Regions from separate parts of the Homo sapiens genome. Here region 2 is linked to region 1. The links are contacts of gene promoters, found by promoter capture Hi-C in human tissues and cell types (Jung and others, 2019). All regions are on one chromosome and are shown on one strand. The core of a region is centred on a gene start or on the middle of the fragment in contact, and the rest is flanking DNA. Distances in the headings are between cores, read along the strand shown. Region 1 holds the start of IGSF21 (immunoglobin superfamily member 21). Region 2 overlaps LOC105376809 (a long non-coding RNA gene).

Evidence for each region. The method cuts DNA at HindIII sites, captures the fragments that hold promoters and counts their contacts. A contact is called where the count stands out against the background at its distance.
Region 2: a contact is called between a fragment that was not itself captured here and the fragment with the promoter of IGSF21 in region 1, in 2 of the 25 tissues and cell types used here (neural progenitor cells and psoas muscle).

The regions. Positions count from the first base shown.
Region 1 is chr1:18,106,250-18,109,748 of GRCh38, reverse strand. IGSF21 (immunoglobin superfamily member 21) reads right to left here and starts at 1,951. Exons shown (of 10, transcript NM_032880.5): 1 at 1,551-1,951. The coding sequence starts at 1,620. The HindIII fragment of the contact is 17,740 bases long and covers 1-3,499 here.
Region 2 is chr1:18,005,578-18,009,076 of GRCh38, reverse strand. The region is part of intron 2 of LOC105376809 (a long non-coding RNA gene); the gene reads left to right. Among named protein-coding and RNA genes, the nearest start is that of LINC01654, 58 kb to the left of the region's middle. RefSeq lists an enhancer at 1-158. The HindIII fragment of the contact is 6,544 bases long and covers 1-3,499 here.

The DNA of each region.
Region 1 (3,499 bases), core at 702-3,201:
CCCTCCTCCCAAAGTTGAGGGGGGACATTTTGATCCACTTAGGAAAGTCTCTTGTTCCAAGGGTAGGGGAACAAAGTACAGGGTTTGCATTCCTTCTGGGTTACACCAACCCCTCCCCCCTCGCTGTCAGGACCACCTTCCGGGCTCAAATTCTGCAGCTTCTCCCATCAGCAGACCCAGCACTCCCCAAGGACTTCGGGGTAGAAGGAGTTGGGGTTATTTTTAAGGGGGCACCCCTTCCTGGCAGGCACTCTCAGAGCCTAGGTAGGCACCTCCTGCTGGGACAAGGCTATGGCATAGGACAGAGGTGATGCCCACCTCTATCATCCAGTGGGGCTCGGGGTCGAGACCTTATTGATCATAAAGACGACTTTTTGGCACCTCGCGTCCCGCTCCCCTCCGAGGCGGAGCCAGGCTCTGACTCCAGCCAGGCTGAGGTTGGCACCAGGCTCCGAGGAGGATCCCGGACGCGGAGCCTGTAGTCTCGGTGCCTGCGGCTCTTCGCTGGTCCCGCCTCCCTCCCTCCTGGCTTTTAGCCTCACGTTGGCTCTCTGCTCACTGCGCGAAAGGGTTCAGCTCCATTTAAGACCCACTACGCGGCGGCACTGGGTGGGAGGCCGGCCGCGGACCCTGGGGCTGCGGAGCCACCTCTCACTGGCTCCGGAGAACCCGCTCGGCTTCAACCTCCTTCTAGCTGTCTTAGCCTAACCCGGGAGCAAGTCCACACGGCGGGACACACACACACACACACACACACACACACTGAGCTGCTCACAACTCCCCAGCCCCGGAAGCGTCCATACCTCCCTGCACACGATAACCACACGCTCCATGGCACGCATACACACACTCCCAGCCCCATGAAGCCCACGACTCCCAGGCACCTGCACCCCCACCCATCCCACATAAGCAGACTCTTGTCCAGTGTCACAGTCCCATCTCCTGTGCACACAGAAATAGTAATCCGCTGTCGTACACCCCTAGAGACCTGCACACTCGGGACACACGTGAAACGCCAAACCTCACATACCCACCCCCTAACACCTCACACCCACAGTGACACAAGCTCACACACTTCACACCCTCACAGGGAAGGTGGCACATGTTCACACCCTCCCCCCAACATTCGCTCACACTCTCACACACACACCTTCTCCATGTAACTGACACAGACACTCTAACACCCATCCAGACCCTCGCTCACTCACACGCAGACCCCACACCATCACACACACACGCACACACACACTTGCATCTCTAAATACACTCCCGCACCTTCTGCCCACACAGCTCCTTCCCGGACACCCTCACCCAGACACACAACAAAGACACACAATTTACACACACACACACACCCTGGCACAAATCCATGAGCGCTCTCCAAGAGGCGTCCTCCCTCCCTCATCGAGCCAACCAGCTCCACAGACCCCGGGCAGGACCGGTGCTCGTAGCCCGAGCCTCTCGGAGCGACCCCGGCCAGCGCCCTCCCCCGGCACCCCGTCCCCGCGCACGTTCACCGCTCGGCTCCCGCCAGGCGCCCGCGCACTCACCGCGCGCCAGGTCCAGGATCGCGGCGAGCAGCAGGCAGACGCAGCGGCGGAGGCTCGGGGCGGTTCGCATGGTGCCCGGGAGCTGGCGGCGGTGGCGGGGCGGCGGGGGTGGAGGCGGTGGCGGCGGGTCCCCTCGCCATGGGCTCAGACGCGCTCCTGCCTCCGGCCACTGGCCGAGGCGGTGGCGGGCAGCGCGGAGAGCCGCGGGGGCGCCCCCATGCCGCCGCGGCCAGGCAGCCCGGGCGCCCGGCTCGACTCGGCTCCGGCTCTGCGAGGCGCAGCGACCCTCGCGCTCTGGGCGTCCTCGGGGCTCGCCGCGGTTCTCGGCTCCCTAGCTGCGCGCGGTGCCCACCGCGGCCCAGAGTCCGATCGGCTGCAGCGCCGGAGTTTGGAGCCGAATCGCGCTCTCTGCCTCGCGCTCGCCTCTCCCGGCGGCGCGAGCACCCCCCTCCTCTCGCCCTCCCTCCGTCCCTCCCCCTCTCCCCGCCCCCCCGCCCTCCTTGCCCTCCCCTCGCCGCGCTCTCCGCGTATTATACAGACTTTTCTTTAATCCTTTCTGGGCTGTTCGGCTCTCGTCCGCTAAGCCGATTTATTGCAGGGAGAAGGAGAGCTCACCCCCTCCTAACCTCCCCTCTCCCCTCACTCAGGTCCCCCCTCACTCAAAACTGGCTTGCTGCCTCCAGCTTCTTAACCCTTACCCAGGTGACCCAACACCCCGCCCTGGAAGCTATGCTCCATCGGATCCGCCTTTACCTAGCCCCTCCTATCCCCGGGATTACCATCGCCCTCCCCGCTACTCAGCCTGATGAAAGGAGGCAGCCTCCCTCCCGAGAGGGAAAGATGCCATCCTGGGAGCAGGGCAGGCAGGGTGTGGCTCTGGAGTTCTGACCTTGCCAACGATGAATGCCCTCATTGGGCAAGATTAAGGGGTTTCCATGTTCTGAAACTTCCCCAATTACGGCTGCTCCTTCCCCCAGGGACCCACGGAAATGGGGTGTGTTCTGTCTTTTTCCCATGTGCTAGGATCCAGCCAGGAAGGGTGAGGAACTGATTGTTTCCTCCTGGCAGAGACCAAGTTTCCACCTTTTTGCCAGACCTGACAGCTTTTCTTCCCAGGTCCGAGAAGAACAGGTTTGGGACTTGTATGTTACCATTACTCTCCCACCAACACACACGCGAGCACACACACACACACACACACACACACACACACACCATTGAGCCTCAGCCCTGGCGGTGGACTTTGAGGCCTCCTGCGAGGATGAAGGGGAGGGGTACTCTAGCCCTTGGAGTGGACTGGGGATGTGGTTAGATGAGGAAGTTCAGGAGATAGAATTTCACCATTGGTAGGGACCCAGAAGATTGGCAAAGCCCAGAAAAACCAGCACGACCAGGGGCAAAACCTGCTCAGAACTCAGGTGGGTCCCTTTACCCAGGCCTTCTATGGAGAATCTCCAGCTTCCCTAGCTCTGGCAGGTTGCTGAGTCAGGCTGTTGCATCGTTTACCTACATGGGCAATGGGTCTATAGCCAGTTCCATCTCCAGCAGCCCTCTGAGAGGAGTGTAGGGAGTGGGGTGGGCAATGGGTGGTTGCTGGGCTGCCTCTGGGTGAGCTTTGTGCAGAGATGTCCATGAAAGTGAACTGCTCCCTCCTCCTGCCCTCTGGAACCTCACCCCATCGCCTCCCAAGGCAGCTCTGCGGCTCAGCTTGCTCACCCACCCCAGAAGGAGCGATTTGCATTTATGAAGATCTGAAAGCATACGTTCACCTGACAGGCTTTAGAATGATCCTCTCAGTAAAATAATAATAATGATCATAATAAACCCTTATAAATAGGTGTTTGATTACAGTTTGTCCCTAAGTGGGATTTTTTTTTTTTTTTTTTTTTTTTTTTTTTGTGAATCAGACTAATTGGTTCCAGGTTGATTGGACTGCATATGGCTTGAAC
Region 2 (3,499 bases), core at 687-3,186, 100 kb after region 1:
GATCTCCGAGTGGGTTTAACCAGTAACTTTTTCTTCTTTTCTTTTTTCTTTTGTTTTCTTTCTTTCCTTCTTTCTCTTTCTTTCTTTCTTCTTTCTCTTTCTCTCTTTATTTCTCTCTCTCTTTTTTTTTTTTTTTAGAGACAGGGTCTCACTTTGTTGCCCAGGCTGGAGTGCAGTGGTGCAATCATGGCTCACTCCAGCCTCGACCTTCTCAGGCTCAGGCAATGCTCCCACCTCAGCCTCCTGGGCTGGGCATGGTAGTGTATGCTGGTAGCTTTGGGAATACTACAGGTGCGCCACCATGCTCAGCTAATTTTTGTATTTTTTTGTAGAGACGGGGTTTCACCATGTCGCCCAGGCTGGTCTCGAACTCCTGGGCTCAAGTGATCTGCCCACTTTGGCCTCCCAAAGTGCTGGAATTACAGGCCTGAGCCACTGTGCCCGGCCAACTAGTGACTCAAACTGTGCACTGAGAAGCCCGGGACCTCTGTGGGTGATCGTGGAAGTGAGAGAGGAGGTGAGTGGGGAGCACTCTTACCTGGTGTAATATCAGAGACCCATCTAAGGTTTTATCCAAAGGAAAAGGTCCACGGGCTTCCTGTCCTCCGTGGTTTTTAAAAAATGGTTTGAAAATGCCTGACATGGTCCATGTTCCCCTGCTGCAGTTATTTAACTGAGGCTCAGAGAAAAGAGCAACATTTCAGAGCCAGTATATTTTCAGCTCCCAACAGGACATAGGAGCATCTGTCACAGCTTGGCATCTTGCAGGGCCTGAGGCTGGGAAAAGCCTTTGCTGGGAGAAGCTGTAGTCCATGGGAATGTAGAAATGGGAGGCCCTGGGGACCTGCAGGGAGACAGCTGAGCCCTGAGGGCCCCCCAGAGACCCAAATGAAAGTAGGAAGATCAGATCCATTTCCATGGGTTCTGGCCAATGGCAAGTCCCAGCCAGAGAGTCCTAGGGCAAAACCCCACATCCCTGGGGTTGTGGGTTGCAGGAAAGCATGTTGGCTCAGGAATCTCAGTCTGGAAACTCTGGTGGAACTCAACACCCTGACAGGGGAGCTGGGGGGCCTCCCAGGGGTAATTAGTGGGACTGTTGTGTTACCGATGCGTCTACAGATGGCCAGGTCCTGCTCTCCAGAGCCTGCCGTCGCTCTCTGGCAGGTTCAACTTGTCCTGGCTCTGTGCTCACTGCATGGCTGTGGTCCACCCATCAGACAGCTGCCGGCACATCTGGGACAGCTGCAACGGGCCAACGCTGGCACCTCCACTGTGCAGAATTATTCCATCCTCCCTACGAGCCTGGGTGTTGAGGAAGGACATTGTGGTTTAGAGAGGGTAGAGGACTCTCCATGGAGGACAGGAAGCCCGTGACAGAGCCAGGTTTATAAGCAGATTTCCCAGCTCCCCTCTGAGTGCTCAAATCCTCTCCCAATGCTGCCCTCCTCGTCACAGCCCATGAGCATGTCTCACATGAGACATCTTCCAGCGGCGCCCCTTGAGTCTGGGAGAGCACCGTGGAAGGTTTGTGCTGCCACCCTGCTGTCCCGGACACTCACTCCCTACCAGCCTTTCCCAGAGATGTTCCATTGGATATTCATGGGAAGGATGGCTTGCTAGTCTATAAGTCCAGAAAACCTTGAATTAAAACAAAGTAAACATGCTGTTCTTTTTTTTTCTTTTCCTTTCTTTCTCTTTCCTTCTTCTTTCCTTCTCTCTCTTTCCTTCCTTCTCATTCTCTTTCTTTTCTTTCTCTCTTTCTTTCTTTTTCTTTCATTCTTTCTTTCTCTTTCCTTTGTTTTTTTCTCCCTCTTTCTTTCCTTCTTTCTCTTTCTTTTCTCTCTTTCCTTCCTTCCTTCTTTCTTTCCTCTCAGATCCTTCACTATAATCATGTCTTGTGAATCCCCAAGAAACAGATAGGGGTTGCAGCATTTCCCATTCTCAGTGAGTCACTTTATCTGTGAGGCTGGACTCAGTTATTCTGCAGTAACAATAATCTCCAAAATGTTCCTGACTTATAACAACCAAGGTGTGTTTCTTGCTCACGATCTATGTCCCCTACAGAGTGACAGAGGAGTTTGCTCCTTGTAGCCACTCACAACCCCTTTCCAGCAGGTGCTTCCCAGCAGGGGGAAACTCAGTCAGGATTCCTGAAAGTCTCCCATGAGACACCCTGGTCAGAAAGTGATGCACGGGACTGTCACCTTGCAGACGTTGGCCAGAACTGGTCACATGGCTTTGCTCGGGGACAAAGGGGCCAGCCAGTGCACTGCTACCATGCGCCCCGGAAGCACACAGCTAGGAAATGTGGGGGAGCACCATGCCCAGGGGCTTGCTGGTCTGCAGAACAGGCACTGACATTCCCCAGGCCCTGTGGCTCTGCAGAGCCCAACTGGGGAAGGAGGCTCCAGGCCACGGCAGCGGGAGAACTCTTGGATTTCTGGAGTTCTTTCCCCCACTCTTTCTGCCGACATCCCAAGAGTAGCAGTTGCCCATGTCCTTCCTTCTTCTGTTCCCCCCTCAGCCTCCCTTGCCCTTGTCATTTTCCATTAGACCTGGCTAAGTCCACTCAAGGGCCCCCTTCTGAGAAGGAATCTCACCATAGACATCTCAGTTATTGCCTGACAACCAAGGGGACTGTAATTACCAGGAACACATGTTGGGATGCGAACCTCTCACTTTCCTACAATGAACAGTCCCCACACACTCCTGCCTGAGGTGTCAATTTAGCCCACCCAAGTCAGAGGGGAGTTGCAGAAAGGATCAGAGTTAGAAGATAGAGCCCATGGTCAATGTCACCCTCTGCCTACAGCTCAGCTCAACCCAGCCCCACTGAAGCCCATGCTCAGTGGAGCCCACAGAGACCAGGCTGGTGAGGGGCAGTGGTGCCCAGTAGTGAAGGTCACGAGCACTGGATCCAACAAACTAGCATGTGGCCTTGAGCAGAACAGGGAGCCTCTCTGATCCCCAGTCTCTTCATCTAAACATACAGATGTTAGCAAGATTGAATCAGGTAGTACCGGACGCATTGATCATGACTGGATCATACTGAATGTTGTTGTGGAATGGTTGCTGTTGTCATCACCAGAAGGAAAGAAGGACAGGTGTATAATGGGACCTCAAGGGCCTGGGCCCAGCCCCGGCTCTGCCTCTAACCTACCATGTGCCACTGGCACTCCGCCTCTCTTGGCCTTGGCTTTACCCAGTGTAAAGCAAGAACATTTCCAATATCTTTAAGAGGGTCTATAAGGCCCTGCAAAACTCCAGCACCTGCGAGTTTTTCAGCCTCATGTTGCACCCTCTCCCTGGCCTTCTCTCCATTCCAATCAGGACAGAATTTTTCTTCCAATAGCTCAGATCTTATGTCAGTCAGCTACAGCCCTGCCAGTGCTTCATAACAAGCCTTCTCAAAGCTCAGTGGCTGACAAGAACAAGCATTTATCCTCAAGCTTATGGGTCTGCAGGTTGGCTGAGGTTTGGTTGATGTAGGCTATAGAAT